Linked DNA regions of Homo sapiens: region 1 is linked to region 2. The links are contacts of gene promoters, found by promoter capture Hi-C in human tissues and cell types (Jung and others, 2019). All regions are on one chromosome and are shown on one strand. The core of a region is centred on a gene start or on the middle of the fragment in contact, and the rest is flanking DNA. Distances in the headings are between cores, read along the strand shown. Region 1 has its middle 38 kb from the start of CCL1. Region 2 holds the start of CCL13 (C-C motif chemokine ligand 13).

Region 1 (7,277 bases), core at 1,358-3,857, 46 kb before region 2:
ATAATAAGTGTTGTCAAAGTAGTCAGCACTAAATATTTGAGAGGTGTAGGCTGAACATCTCACACTGGGGGTGCTGTGAGGTCTGAGCATTGTGAGACAAGTAGAACTTAGTCACTGTCTCTTGGGTCAGGCTGGTGGAAGATACATGCTCATGAATAAACAGAGAGGGTAAAATGCCAAGGACAGTGAACAAGTTACTAAGGATTGCAGAGACGGGGACTCAGCTCTAATTGGAGATGTTGGTGGAGGCTAGCTTGGAGGAGAAGCCATTTGCCCCGAGTCACCCTGAATGAGTTCCTGGGCAGATCGGACAGCAGGAAGACCATGTGGAAGGGCCATGCATGGCCTGCCAAGGGAACTTAATCAGCTGGGTTACTGGAGATGGAGGCCTAGAAATGAGGCTGGCAGGGTGGCAAAGGCTGCATTCTCATGACCTCAGGGGCTCTGATCTGGGACTCTTGGTGGTGAGAGAAAAGCAGGAGGGTTTTAAGATGGGAAGTTGTCTTGGAGGTTGTGCAGTTATTATTGCTATTCATTAATTACTTCTGTCTCTCTTTTTTTCTGGGCCCTTGGTGGGACTACAATTCCCGGCTCCCCGTGGTTGGACAGGACCCCATGGATGGAGCTGAACAGTGAAATATGAGTGGAAGTGATGTGTTATTTCTGGGCGAAGCATCTATTGCTGGTATAAGACCCTATACAGCTCTCGTTCACTCTATTACAACTACCAGCATTCAAGATAGGACAGTTGATACAGCAGACCTGACCTCTATTCTCCAAGTGGGGGTTGGGGTGGGATGATGGCAGAGAGGCTTATGTGCTGGGCCTGCCATCCGTGCCCATGGAGGCCATGGAGGCATGGAGGTGTGGGGGCCTCAGAGGGGCTTCCCAGGAACTGGCCCCAATCTCACCCACATCTCATTGCCCATTGGACCAATACCCTTGACTGTCCCCCCTCCCAACCACCCAGTTACTTCTTGGAGAAGTGGGAAATTCTGGATATGGTCATAAAACGTGAAAAGTGAAGGCCCAGAGAAATGACACACATAAAAACGACCTTGGCTCGAAAACAAACACATGAACTTTAAAAATGCAAATCTGCCTCCAGCTAAATAAATAGAACCAGTCCAAGAAATAGCACACATGAACTTGGAAAAGTGTGACTGAAGAAAAAGGCCCAGAGAAAACAAAATATAATAGTGAGACAGAAAAATATAGCAAAAGGTAAAAGGAATGCAGACTTCAGAGTCCCATACCTTCCTTCAGATCCCACTTTTGTTATTTACAATACAGCCTCCCAGCACTCATCCATCCATTCACCCATCCTTTCCTTCAGTAAATGTGGAATGCTTACCGTGTGCCAAGCACTGTGCTAGGTCCTGGGGCTCCATGCATCTGAACCATTTCTATGCCAACTCTATCTGCATGGAACTTACAGTCCCATGGGACACACAGACAAGAAAGTGGGACAAGCAACTTGACTGGCCAGATTATTGTGCATGTCAGGGTTAAGGTATAAGCTACCTTGCAGTGAGCACAGCAGCCTGGAGATGCTAAACAGATGATGATTAAGATTATTAAAATACCAGAGGCAAGTAATAGACCACAGGGTAGGTAAGAAACAAATCTTCTCTTGAATAATTATTGGAGAGACATGCATTATTTATTTAAAATCTACAATGAGGCAATTTGTAACTATTCAAAGTTACAATGGAAACTAAAAGGAAATTATTGCTCCAGACTCTTAAATCCAAACACCTTCTCCTAAGCCGACGCATGCATGGGAGTCTAAAAGTTCTATTATAGATTACATGGTTCCTATAACATAGGGCAGGCAGAGAAAGGTTGGGAAGGAGAAAGAGTGAGCTCATCAGTTTGCTTACTTGGGAATTGGGTCTCTGATCTTTTGGCCCGGCACACCTGGGCTACCTGGCTATGCCCAGAGCTTGTCTCCCCTACTCCTAGATATAGTAAGGCACGTTTTGGAGATTCTTATAGTCATTGTACCCAGGATTTACAACACATATTCCAGAGAGCTAGAACTGCTGTGTGCCTCTTTATGTTTTATTTTTAGGAGAGGAAGCAGTGTAGAAAGGACACTGGTTTCATAAGCATTTGGAGTCAAACTCAGCTTTGTGACATTGGGAAGTTACTTAATTTCTCTACACCTCAGTTTTCTTAACTCTAAAATAAGCCTGATAATGAGGGCTACTGTGAAGATATATACAGTATATCCTATATATACACACATATACGCACGTAGACACCTGCATATGTATATGAATACATATATGAATATAAACATGCACATGAACATTCACATACATATTCATATATAGAAAATAAATATGTGCATATATATACACATAAACACGTATATGTGTGTACATGCTTGTGTGTGTGTGTGTGTATATATATATATATATATTTATGCATTCATTTATGTAAGTACACATACACATGGCCTAGCACAGGGCCTGATACCTGGTCAGAATTTGGAAAGTCTTAGTACCCTTTCTGCAACTGTGTGGCCTTCTTTAGTATTGAGTTATGGTAGCCTCTAAGGCTCCATGTGATCTGAAGAATTATTGCCGTGGGGTCTCTAGATGATGCCCCCCCACCATCCTTTTACAGCTGCTAAGCACCAATATTAGAGTTCAGGTGCCAAATTGTTTCTCTAAATGCCATTTAACCTGGTACCAAGACAGAAGAGTGGCATCAGACAGCTGACAAAAGATGTTATTCTAGGCTCGAGAGAAGATCACCTGCTGGTCGAAGTCAACCTAGAACCATCCCGGCCTCAGGCCAGGCCTGAGCAGGTTTGTCCTGGTCTCTAATCAGGTGCTGAGAGCCCAAAGGCCACAGTACAATGTTAGCATTCTTGGCCACCTTGTCCCTTGGTTTTTCAAAATGTCTAGACTTTGTTTTCTCCAATTAATGTAAATCCATCCATATGAAATCAAATTCCCTGTTGCTGCCACTTTTTATCTACCAAAAAGATGGCCAAGGAATAGCTTCAGTTTAAGGAGGCTTCTGGGCTGCTTATCAAAGGCAAATTCACTGAGCAGGGCTTCCCAAACCCAGCTAAGCAGTGGGGCCTCCTGGGATATATGTTATAATGCTGACTCCCAGGTCATGCCCAGGCCTACTGCATGGGGATTTAGAGAATAGAGTGTGATGGGGCTATGGAAGCTGTGATTTTACCAGCACTGCCAGTGCTTCTGATGGATGGCTCACTGGATACCTCTGCTCAGCAAGGGGCAGCTCTCTGGGGGTGTCCTGATGAAACAGGCTGGGCTGCCAGCCTGACTTTCACGGTACTCTTCCCCTTCACTTTCTCCACCCTTTGGGACCTCTCCCTCCAGGGTTTGATCCCAACTTCCTCCTACACTCTCCTGACAAGAAAGAAGGGAGAGGAAAAAGAGCTAAGCTTTACTGAGTGCCCAGTGGGTGCCAGGTCCTGGGCTAAGGCTCTCACTTGTGCTGTCAGATGTAACCCTCAGCATACAGCAATGCCTGGTGATGCTTTGAGATGCATAAATGGAGGGCATGAGAAAGCCAAATAACTGGGCTTCCTAGGCACACATGAATCTACACTTTATGACTCCAAAAGACAGGCTCCTTTCACTAGACACCAGGAGTGAGAGAACAGACTTGAATTTCAGACTGGGCCCTCTGACTGCCTGGGGAGAAGGGGTTGGGACCTGAAACAGGGAGACTCAGTAATAGGATTTTGGGTTAAGTCAGGTGGAAGATGATCTACTTGTCACATTGTGCTCTCATAATTATCCTCTACTGAGGTAGGAACCATTATTTGCCCCATGTTATAGAAGAGAAACCTGAGGTTTCCAGAGGTTGAGTGCTTTACCAAAGGGCGTAAAGCTGGCACATGCTTGTTCAGGCATGCCTACTCCTGAGCTTGTGATCTCAATCTCTCCTGACCAAGAGGGTGGCCTCCAGGGTGGGGGAAAGACAGGGGTTTAACGACATTTGAGACTTAACGTGTACAGACTTGCCAGGCTTTGGTGACAGGGAGGATGGGGCGGAGTGGGGGACAGGGAGGAGTCAAGGCTGGCAGCTATGTCCTGGTTGGATAACCAATGGACCATGAGAGAAAAGAGAATGTTGCGGAGATGATGAATTCAGATTGTGGCACATCGATTTTGAAATACCTGTGGTACTACCAAATTTGTGTGGATTCACAGGATAATCATAATCCATCCATCCATTTAACAAATGTTTATTCAATGCTTAATGTGACCATGTTATGTGCCAGGTCCTGGCACAGGCAAGAGCCTGCTCCTGCAGAAGAGGACCCGCTTTGCCATGTTTATTTCTCATATCTTCTCTGGCACGATCATGTTCCTTTATTCAAAATTTCCACTCACATCAGTCATCCGTTATCGATCACAGACGACGGAGTTTGTGGCCACAGTGACATCTCCCCCACAGATGTGTGATGGCCAGCATGTGGAAGGGGACCTTTGTGCTAGCTCAGGCTCTCCGTGTTGCAGGGGAGCAGTCAGAGGAAACTTGGAAATTCTTGTCTCTTTGCCCATCTTTCCCTAGGTGTCTCCCCATGACAAGGCCGGTGCCAGCCCCTGGGATACAAAGATGAGAAAGTGCAGGGTTCGACTGGGGGAGGGCAGAGGAAGAAGCTGCTGTTCTGGTAAGAGTGGGCTGCTTTGCAAAGAGACAGTTAGGAGGTGTTGAGGCCAATTGAGAAAAGCTCCAAACTCACTGACTTTGTATCTGATTGTGCCTGACACTGGTGCCTATCAGAGTGTGGTGAGGTGGAAGCCACACCCACGAGCTGTGTGATGCCTGGCAAGTCACTTCACATCTCCGAGCCTCACTTCCTCATCTGCAAATGGGGATAATGCTAAGTACTTTGAAGGGTTAATATGGAAATTCCTATAGGAAACTTGCTGTAAAGTTCTAGGCACATCGTAGGTCCTCTCTCCCATCAATCCTTTCTGGGTCTTTGATTGGAAACAGCTTCCCATTCCAGTGATGCTTATGAATCGCTTGTCCTTCTGCAAGCTTCTATGGGTGTGGATTTGTGTGTAGGTGACTTTGTGTATTTTTATATAGTTAGAATACATCAATATAAGACCATATATGTTTCAGATTAACTTCCTGCAAAAGAAAAATAAATTAGATTTGCATTGGTGTGAGTTTTTTAAAACATAAATGTACAACATAGTTCTATTCCTCAATATTTTGCATTTCTTTTGAAAGGACTATAACTTCAAGGAAAGTCTCAAAAAAGTTACCCCCATTCCCTGCATGTTAGCACACTTCCCTTGTAATTTTCTCTCTGTGTCTACACAGATAGCTGTATTTTTCCAGAACTGAATCATAGTCTACCCACTGTTTTGTGCTGTGTTTTTTGCATTTAACTGTTTCACAAGTATGTGTGTGAGTGTGTTTAATGCCTTATGTGTACAGATAAGTTTTGAGAGTTTCATAATATTCCGTTGCATTGGTGTTTAATTAGTTAAGGAAGCATTCCCTAATGTTTAATATTTTAGCCTTTGCTTTTGATTCCTTCTGGATAAGTTTAGATCTTGGAACAGAATCCTTTCTCTGGTAATACCTGTGTCCTTTCTGGGTGCTTAGAGAAATCTCTTTTCCAAAGCAGGACATACTCTCTCATTTTGAGCTCTCTGTTAAAAATTAGGATTTGATCTCAGAACTCACCCTGTTTCTTCCTTTCTAGACCATGTAGGTGGACTCTATTTAAGAAGCAAATGTGTAACAATTCCAATTGGTTGCTACTTAAACAAGAAGAGAGGAGATTTATTACATTTTACCAGAAAGGCTGAATGTTAAAGGCACAGGTACACAGCTGGAAATAATTAAAATAACAACCAATGTTTACTGAGTACCACATAACTATCAGGAGCTATTCTAAATTCATTGCATCCTCACAACAATCCAATGAGTTAGGTACAATTTTTAGCCCTGTTTTGCAGAAGAGGAAGTTGAGGTCAGAGAAGTTAAATGATTTGGTCAAGTTCATGCAGTTAGGAAGTGACTTAAATCTAGATGGTCTGACTCCAGAGCTTAGGTCTAGGTTAAAATCTGTCATGCTATTTGTAAATTGGGTCTCCTTTAAGAAGCCATGTGACTGCTCCGAGCCTCAGCTTCTGACTTGTGACGTGGTAGTGACAAGTCCTATCTCAAAGGACAGAGGTGAGATTAAGCAAGATGGTGTACAGAGAAGCCCACATGGTACTTGCCATGAGGTATTTGCTCAGGAACAGTTCCAGTCCCCTTTTCTCCCATTGTCACAGGGTTGGGATCCTGGTCCCCAACCCAGCCTGGCCTCTGGGCCCAGAAACATAACTATTTTCTATTGAAATGTTTGTGCTCCTCAATTGTCCTGTTGTTTTGACTTGTGAGCTCATTTTTCCCTGAGAGTATTGGTTACTCCTTTTGGCAGTGTTGGTGGTGAGATGCCAGATTCTATCTACTTCAATTCCAGTGAACTCAGGAAGTAGGGAGAGGTGAGCCTTAAGGTGCGGAACCCCTGGCATGAGAAAACACTTACCAAGACACCTCTCAGCTCAATCTTAACCCTTTGCCACCCATAGAGAGGATCCACTCTTTAGACAGTAATTTTACAGCCCCAGAAGTTCAGATAGGACGGGAGAGGAAGTAACGGCCCAAGTCAGTCACTCTGCCTGCTTTGCTCAGCCTCCCTTTAGCACAGGACTTCTGTACAGCTCTGATTTTACTCCTGACAATAATGAGGGCATAAGATTTAGTCTCCACAGGTTTTTCCCAAGGCTGTGACTGGGGAGAAGAAAGAACAGAATTCCTAATATTTCCCCCTCTCTTTTACACTTCTGCTGCTGTGCTGGGATACGTCCTGCCCAGGCCACACCATCACCTTCCGCCCTACCGTCCAATTCAAAATAGGACCACACCCCCATGGTTCCTCCTGGTTTTCAGTTTTCCCTTCCTTTGTGTTCCTCTGGAGTTGATCTTGGGGGGCAGGTTAAGCATCCGTGCTTGTTATGAATCTTGACTGGAAATGGAACCTGAAAAGCAACCTCTATTTTCCATCTCTTTAGCATCTCATGTAACACATTCTATGGGGACTCAACCTGTCAAAGACACTCAGTCATATGCACAAACGTGAACACCAGGCTACTTCTCCGGCATTGCCAGGGCTGGGGCAGAGGTGTGGCAGGAGGAACTGGTGATCCTGGTCTCTGTACTCGTTGGTCACAAACTCCTGCTGAGATCACCAGAGCTGCCTATGATTT
Region 2 (7,165 bases), core at 2,616-5,115:
ATTGGCATTGAGAGGTGGGAGCCAGGGGCTGAAGGATGGGTCAGGAGGAGGGAGACATGTTGCACCTGGTGCCAGGGGAACTGGGCTAATAAGTGACTCACTAGCTCTCAGTGACTGCCTTTGTCCTGGGGTGTAAGCTTTGAGTCAGGGTGGTGGTGCAGATTCTCTGCCTCCAGATTTGGCTGCCAGGAGTGGTACAGTGGAACAGAAAGCTGGGGTTCACAGCTGGATCCACATTTGGGTGCAGGACTCTTCTTCTCCCTGCCCTGCCCAGAGGGCTTGGGGGGTGATGTTATCACCAAATCACAACTGCCCTAGCTGGAGGGGATCATGTGAGGTTGTCTGCCTGTAAAATGTTGCTAAACCCATTTTATAGATGAGGTGACTGAGGGCTAAAGAGAGATGCAGCAATTCAGGGGCAGATCTGGCATTAGAGCCTAGAGCTGTTGCCTCCTAGGACAACTCCTCCAGGTGTCCCACATTGCCAAGTGTACTGCCTGATGCAGTGTGGTACCAGATCTGGGGGACAGGCCCTGCTGTTGTCAGCAGTGCCCATCTCTTCTTGAGGAAGATCTCAGTGGGTGTCCAGGCATGGGTAGGTTCTGGGTCTGATTGAGATGCCCACCCAGCTTATCTGGAGGAGTGAGGCTGTCTTGGGAAGAGCAGGATAAACCCTTGGTGGACATATAGGAAGAGGAGGGCCAACGCTTTAAAAGGGACAATCACAAGCTTCAATTTGTACAACGTGTGATTCAAGGAAGAATAGCCAAGGAAGGAAGTATTTCTAGGTCTTGGGGTTGGCACGCCTTTAAAGATCACTTTTAGAGGGCAAAGGTCTCATGCTGTGTTTCCCTCATTCCCCATTCAACATGTCACACATCTGGCCCAGTCTTCTTAATCTGCCTCCTCTTCTCCACCCCCATGACTGCCCTTCTTCAGCCCCTATTTTCTCTTGCTTGGACTATTGCAGTAGGCTGTTTTCCGCCCTCCCTTCTCAACTCCATCTTATCCACAGCCAATAGCTAGTCTTCCTGGCATCCATTCTTCCCTCTGGATGACTCAAAAACCTTTGCACCTTCCTCCTGCCTTCAGAACTGAGTCTAAACTCCCCACCCTGATATTCTAATTCCTCTAGAACCTGCCCTCAACTTTCATTTCTACATGTCTCCAACTTTTACATTCTGGAAGCCCATATCGGACCGTTTGGGGATATTCCCCCCAGGCCCTCTCCCCACATTGCTATCTTGGACCTCCCCTAAAAGAATCTTTGCTATGACCATACTTCCCCATCCTCTAAAGTCCATTAGGCCCAAGCACCCTCTTCCCTACCAATCCTGAGGCTCACTAGGACTTGGTCATCTGGTTTCCCTCTGAGTGTCAGGTGCACATGAAGTCTGAATCACTTGCTGCTTGGAGTGGGGAGGCATAGATTGGGGTGGGAGACTAGAGGGGGAGGGATGGGTTTACTTTTGGCAGGAGTGTGGTTTTAAAGAAAGAAATGAACTGAATATGAAACGGATGAGTTGCGAGCCAGGAGCGCCCATGCTGGGGACTGGAGCCATTGTTCCAGAACAGCCTGGGCTGGTGAGGCAGGCCCTCCTTGAAACTCAGATGAGCCAGGCTAGCCCCATGGCCAGGGCCTCTGTACATCTGCCTTCCACTGGCATGCCATCCACCCACACCTCTGAGAGCCCCTACTGGTTGGCAGTTACTCCTGAAGAAAACACCACTGTGTAGGAGATTTTAAATAAAATGTATTTTCTGCAAAATGTCAGCAGTCCTACTATTGCATTCATCTTTCCACAATAACATATTTAGCAACACCTCACATTCACAAAGAGCTCTCCTTCCTACATTGCAGCATCCCTTCATGTCCATGACTCCCACAGGCATGCTCTCAACCCCTGGGAACCGAATACAAACCCACTGCCAGCAGCTCATAGTGGAAGGGAAGGGGGCTTAGAGACAGCAACCTACTTGCTCAAGGCCTTGCTTTAGAAAAGATCAGCAATACTCAAATAAACTCCAAACCAGCAACAAGTCAAATAATAGCCAATATTACTTAACACATAGTACATTTTGAATCACAAAACCGAATGCATCCTATTTGAAAATTATGGTAGAAGTATTCCAAAGCATAGAAGAGGAGGCCAGAGGAGAATGGAAAAGTCATTTCACGTACTCCAGCTTGATTTCAGTAGGGGTAGCAGAGTTCAAGTCTTCAGGGTGTGAGCTTTCCGGCCCAGGTGTTTCATATAATTCTGGACCCACTTCTCCTTTGGGTCAGCACAGATCTCCTTGCCCAGTTTGGTTCTGAAGCTGTGGAGGAAGGAGATCTGGCACAGTTAGATGGAACCCTTTGAGGGTTTACCCAGGAGATGACACACTGGGTTCTAAACCTGCCTGGTCCACCTACTACAGGTGAAGGGGCACCCCTCCAGGACAGGAAGTAGGAGGTGTGTGGACAGAAGGGGTCTCTGGAGGCAGCCACTGCTCTTGCTGCCCCTGGGAAACTGATCCTGGCATCTGCTAAAGGGTGTGGGCTGGTGCCCATCCAGGAAACAAGGTGTGGGAAATTATAGGTCCTCTTTGGACCTGTTGTGCAGCCAAAATTGGAGGATTTGCATCACACAGTCTGGCTAGATCTCATCCTAAGATCTCAAGTCAGTCTGACGTCTGTCTCCTGGGGCAGAACTTTGGATTGGGGAATGTGGGAGTGGGGAGGAGCCAGGTGAGCAGGGATTTTTCTACCCACATGACAGCCTTCTGGGGACACCTGCTGGTGGTGATCACATAGCTCTTCAGCCTCTGCAAGGAGATCTTCTTACTGCTAAATGTGAAGCAGCAAGTAGATGGGACGTTGAGTGCATCTAGAAATAGTTACAAAGAAAAAGACTTTGAGGATGTGTTAGGCTTTTCTCAGCTTGAATACAGCAGGGAGCATCTGTATGGGATGCAAAGCAAAGAGGAAGAAATAGATCTTACTCACCCCCAAGCCCAGCACTCCCACCCTAGACCCTGAGGTGAGGTGGGACCTGTGACATGTGCCTCAGGATCTCAAAGGCTCAGCTGCATGGTGGAGACATGTCACAGCCATCTAGGGGAGGCCACGGGCAAGGCCAGTGGGAAAGGTCCTGGGTGTGGTCCCAGATCTGCAGAGTTTGGGACGATCAGATGAGGTCAAAGAAAAGGCCCTAAATCTGGAGTCAGAAGCTTAGGTTTCATTCTTGCTCTGCAATAACCTGGAGGTGGATGGCTAGGGTCCCTTCTGCCTCCAACATGGGCTTCAGCTTTCTATCTTTAAAATTAGATGTTAAAGTGAACCTCTGAGGAGCCTTACTATTCTGGTGGGCTTAGAAGTGGGGCACTTGGCTGGGCCTGGTGGCTCACGCCTGTAATCCCAGCACTTTGGGAGGCCGAGACGGGAGGATCACTTGAGGTCAAGAGTTTGAGACCAGCCTGGCCAACATAGTGAAACCCCTTCTCTACTAAAAATACAAAAATTAGCTGCACGTGATGGCGGGTGCCTGTAATCACAGCTACTCAGAAGGCTGAGGCAAGAGAATCGCTTGAACCTGGGAGGTGAAGGTTGCAATGAGCCAAGATCGCACCCCTGCACTTCAGCCTGGGCAACATAATGAGACTCAATCTAAAAAAAAAGTGGAGGAGCACTCGGGCTTAGGTCTTCCTTGAATAGAGAAACAGAGGGAAAGAGAGGGAGAGTCGAAGGGAGGTGACTTACCTGGCTGAGCAAGTCCCTGGGGGTTGAAAGCTGCTGTCATGAGCAGCAGGCACAGAAGCACTGCAGAGACTTTCATGTTGAAGGTTAAGAGTTGGAGATTTCACAATGTTTCTTTGCCTCTCTGCTCCTCTGGCTGTTCCGCCGGCCTTTTATAGGGAGTGGAGAAGCTTGGAACTCTCAGAGGACCTTGGCCTGAGCAGGGCGTTGACCAAGTCATGATGAAGGGGGATCCTGAATCTGCTGAGCTGGAGCTGGGCACCAAAGACTTTTCTAGGAAATGCAAGAGGGAAGCTGAGGGCTGAAACAGCATGGCATGGCTTCCTTCTGGCTGTTCAGGCCACAAGGAGCCAGAGAGGAGAAAGGGACACAGACGCGCCCCAGCCATTCACCATGGGAAGCCATAAAGGAGCTGTTTTCTTCTTACTTTCTCCAACAGGAAAGAGAAAAACAATGAAAATTAACTCCTGTAGAGAAAGAGTGCTGTGCTAAGGACTCTGTTCACGTTATATATTTAGTTTGAGGAGGTACATACCATTATTATCATGCCCATTTCATAGAAGAGGAAACGGATGCAGAGAGATTAAATAACTTGACCAAAATCTTATGGGAAATGAGAGGGAAAGCTAGAAGAGAAAGCTGGTCTGCTTATATTTTATCACCAAGGCAGTTTCAACTTTTGTTTAGCAGCAGAAGTCTTTTTCCAAGTCAACTTTTATGTGGAAGTCTAATATCTGAAACAGATTAAGTCAGATTTCTGATGACAGGGGCTCCTTACATTACATATTGTGTCCCCTTCTGCCCCTCAGGCCCAGAGGGACATGGTTCAAACACCTCTGATTGATGCAGGCCCCGTGTTTCCAGGAAGGACCATTGGGTTTCTAGAGCTGTTGATGGGAGGGCTGGGGTGGCCCTCAGAGCAAAGAAGTGAGGTGTTTGGCCCATTCCTGGGCTCCTCCTGCGAGGGGCACATATCTGGGAGCTGGGAGGTGGGGAGGGAATGGCTTAAAATGGTTGAACATGTCCCTTTCCCACTCATCCCTAGCTCCAAGACTTGGCACAGTTTTTGTGCCTTCCTGGAATACTCATCCCTCTGCATTCCACTATAGCAAAATAAGCCCAGTGAAAGTAAAGGGAAGAAATAAAGAGCTAGGATTAGAGAAATAGGAAACAGTAAATATTAGAAAGGATAGATGAAGCCCAAAGCTGGTTCTGTAGCCTATAATTAAGCTAAAACTCTCCTGAACTGAAAATGAAAAAAAAAAGAAAAAAGGGGCTGAGGCGGGGGGATCACTTGAGGTCAAGAGTTCTAGAGCAGCCTGGACAACATGGTAAAACCCTGTCTTTACTAAAAAAAATACAAAAATTACCCAGGCATGGTGGCACATGCCTGTAATCCCAGCTACTTGGGAGGCTGAGGCAGGAGAATTGCTTGAACCTGGGAGGCCGAGGTTACAGTGAGCCAAGATTGCACCACTGCACCCCAGTCTGAGTGACAGAGTAGGACTCTGTCCCAGAAAAAAAAAAAAAGAAAAGAAAAAAGGAAAAAGGTACATATAACCAGTTGCAGAGCCTGCAGACACCAAAAAGAAAATGATAAGAACCTTATGCCAAAAATTTAGTTTAGAGGAAATGGATGAATTTCTTAAAAATCTAACTGACCAGGGTGCACAAATAAATAAAAAATAGAAAGTCATTCTAAAGCTATTAAAGAAATGGAATCAGGAATTGAAAATCTTCCCACAAAACATTCTCTGGGCTCAAAGGGCACAAACAGCTAATTCCTCCAAGCACTGAAGGAAGTGGTCATTTCAATCTTGTGCAATCTCTTCCAGAGAATATCAAAAGATTGTACACCACTCAATTCATTTTGAGACCTACCTAACTTTGACACAAAAATGTGTCAAGACTCACCTGAGAAAAGGATATTATAAGCTTGTCCCTTCAGACACACATTCCATTCTTTTCCATTCTATTCTCTGCCCTAGGAAGCCAATCTTGGTGGGTTACATCAGTGAGGTTGCTGACCTTCTAGCTTCTGACTGGGTTTAGGCACAAGGGAGCTTCTGAGGACATTAGAGCAGGGAGAAGAGTTAAGTTGAGGTTCTTCTCCTCTGTTGTCTCCCTGTGTTCCTCAACCTGGATACATCCCTCAACTAATGGTTTTAACTTCTTTCAAGGTGGTTTCTCCATGACTCTCCTATCCAGGTTTGCTGAGCTATCCCCTGTTTTTCCTTTTTAGATTTAGGAATATAACCATGTTCTTTTTAAAAAATTTTTATTTTATTTTAAATTTTGGGATACATGCGCAGGATGTGCAGGTCTGTTACATAGGTAAACATGTGCCATGGTGGTTTGCTGCACCTATCAACCCCTCACCCAAGTATTAAGCTCCATCCACATTAGCTATTTATCCTGACGCTCTCCCTTTCCCTCACTCCCTGAGAGGCCGCAGTGGAATAGCCAAGACAATCTTAAACAAAAAGAACACAGCTGGAGGTATCATGCTACCTGACTTCAAACTATACTACAAGGCTACAGTAACCAAAACAGTATGGTACTGGTACAAAAACAGACACACAGACCAATGGAACAGAATAGAGATCTCAGAAATAAGACTACACATCTACAACCATCTGATCTTTGACAAACCTGACAAAAATAAGCAATGGAGAAAGGATTCCCTATTTAATAAGTGGTGCTGGGAAAACTGGCTAGCCGTATGCAGAACACTGAAACTGGACCCCTTCCTTACACCTCATACAAAAATGAAATCAAGATGGATTAAAGACTTAAATGTAAAACCCAAAACTATAAAAACCCTAGAAGAAACTCTAGGCAATACCATTCAAAACATAGGCACAGGAAAAGATTTCATGATGAAAATGTCAAAAGCAATTGCAACAAAAGCAAAAATTGGCAAATGGGATATAATTAAACTAAAGAGCTTCTGTACAGCAAAAGAAACTATCATCAGAGTGAACAGATATCCTACAGAACTGGAGAAATTTTTTGCAGTCTAACCATGTTCTTAATAGCCTCATGGTACCAAACACCCCTGTGGTCTCTTTTCACCCACTTACATCTTTGTAAATAGCTTCTTTACTAAACCTTTCTCCAAGTCTTCCATTTTAAGTGTTATCTATTTCTTGCTGGGACACTTACTGACATTGAATTGGCCCCATAAAATAGAACTTCCAAATGGGATTCTGGGATTGGATTGCTCGTATGTTTTAGGTGCACCATGGAAAGGGGCACAGGAATAGGATCTGTCAACATATCATGATTACTTTAATTACCACCAGTAGTAGCATGGCAGACTGCTTTAACAAGCCCATTAGGTGATCCTGAAATACACAAAAGTTTGAGAACTATGGGATTATATCATGTCCCACTGTCATCACTGATCTATAAAGAATAGCCACT

What was found. The method cuts DNA at HindIII sites, captures the fragments that hold promoters and counts their contacts. A contact is called where the count stands out against the background at its distance.
Region 1: a fragment that was not itself captured here is called in contact with the fragment with the promoter of CCL13 in region 2 in 1 of the 25 tissues and cell types used here (spleen).

What each region holds. Positions count from the first base shown.
Region 1 is chr17:34,398,026-34,405,302 of GRCh38, reverse strand. No RefSeq gene overlaps it. Among named protein-coding and RNA genes, the nearest start is that of CCL1, 38 kb to the right of the region's middle. The HindIII fragment of the contact is 3,260 bases long and covers 978-4,237 here.
Region 2 is chr17:34,353,180-34,360,344 of GRCh38, reverse strand. CCL13 (C-C motif chemokine ligand 13) reads right to left here and starts at 3,865. Exons shown (of 3, transcript NM_005408.3): 1 at 3,743-3,865; 2 at 2,756-2,870; 3 at 1,735-2,319. The coding sequence starts at 3,818. The coding sequence ends at 2,214. It overlaps CCL1 (C-C motif chemokine ligand 1), which reads left to right. Exons shown (of 3, transcript NM_002981.2): 3 at 1-17. The HindIII fragment of the contact is 2,821 bases long and covers 1,972-4,792 here.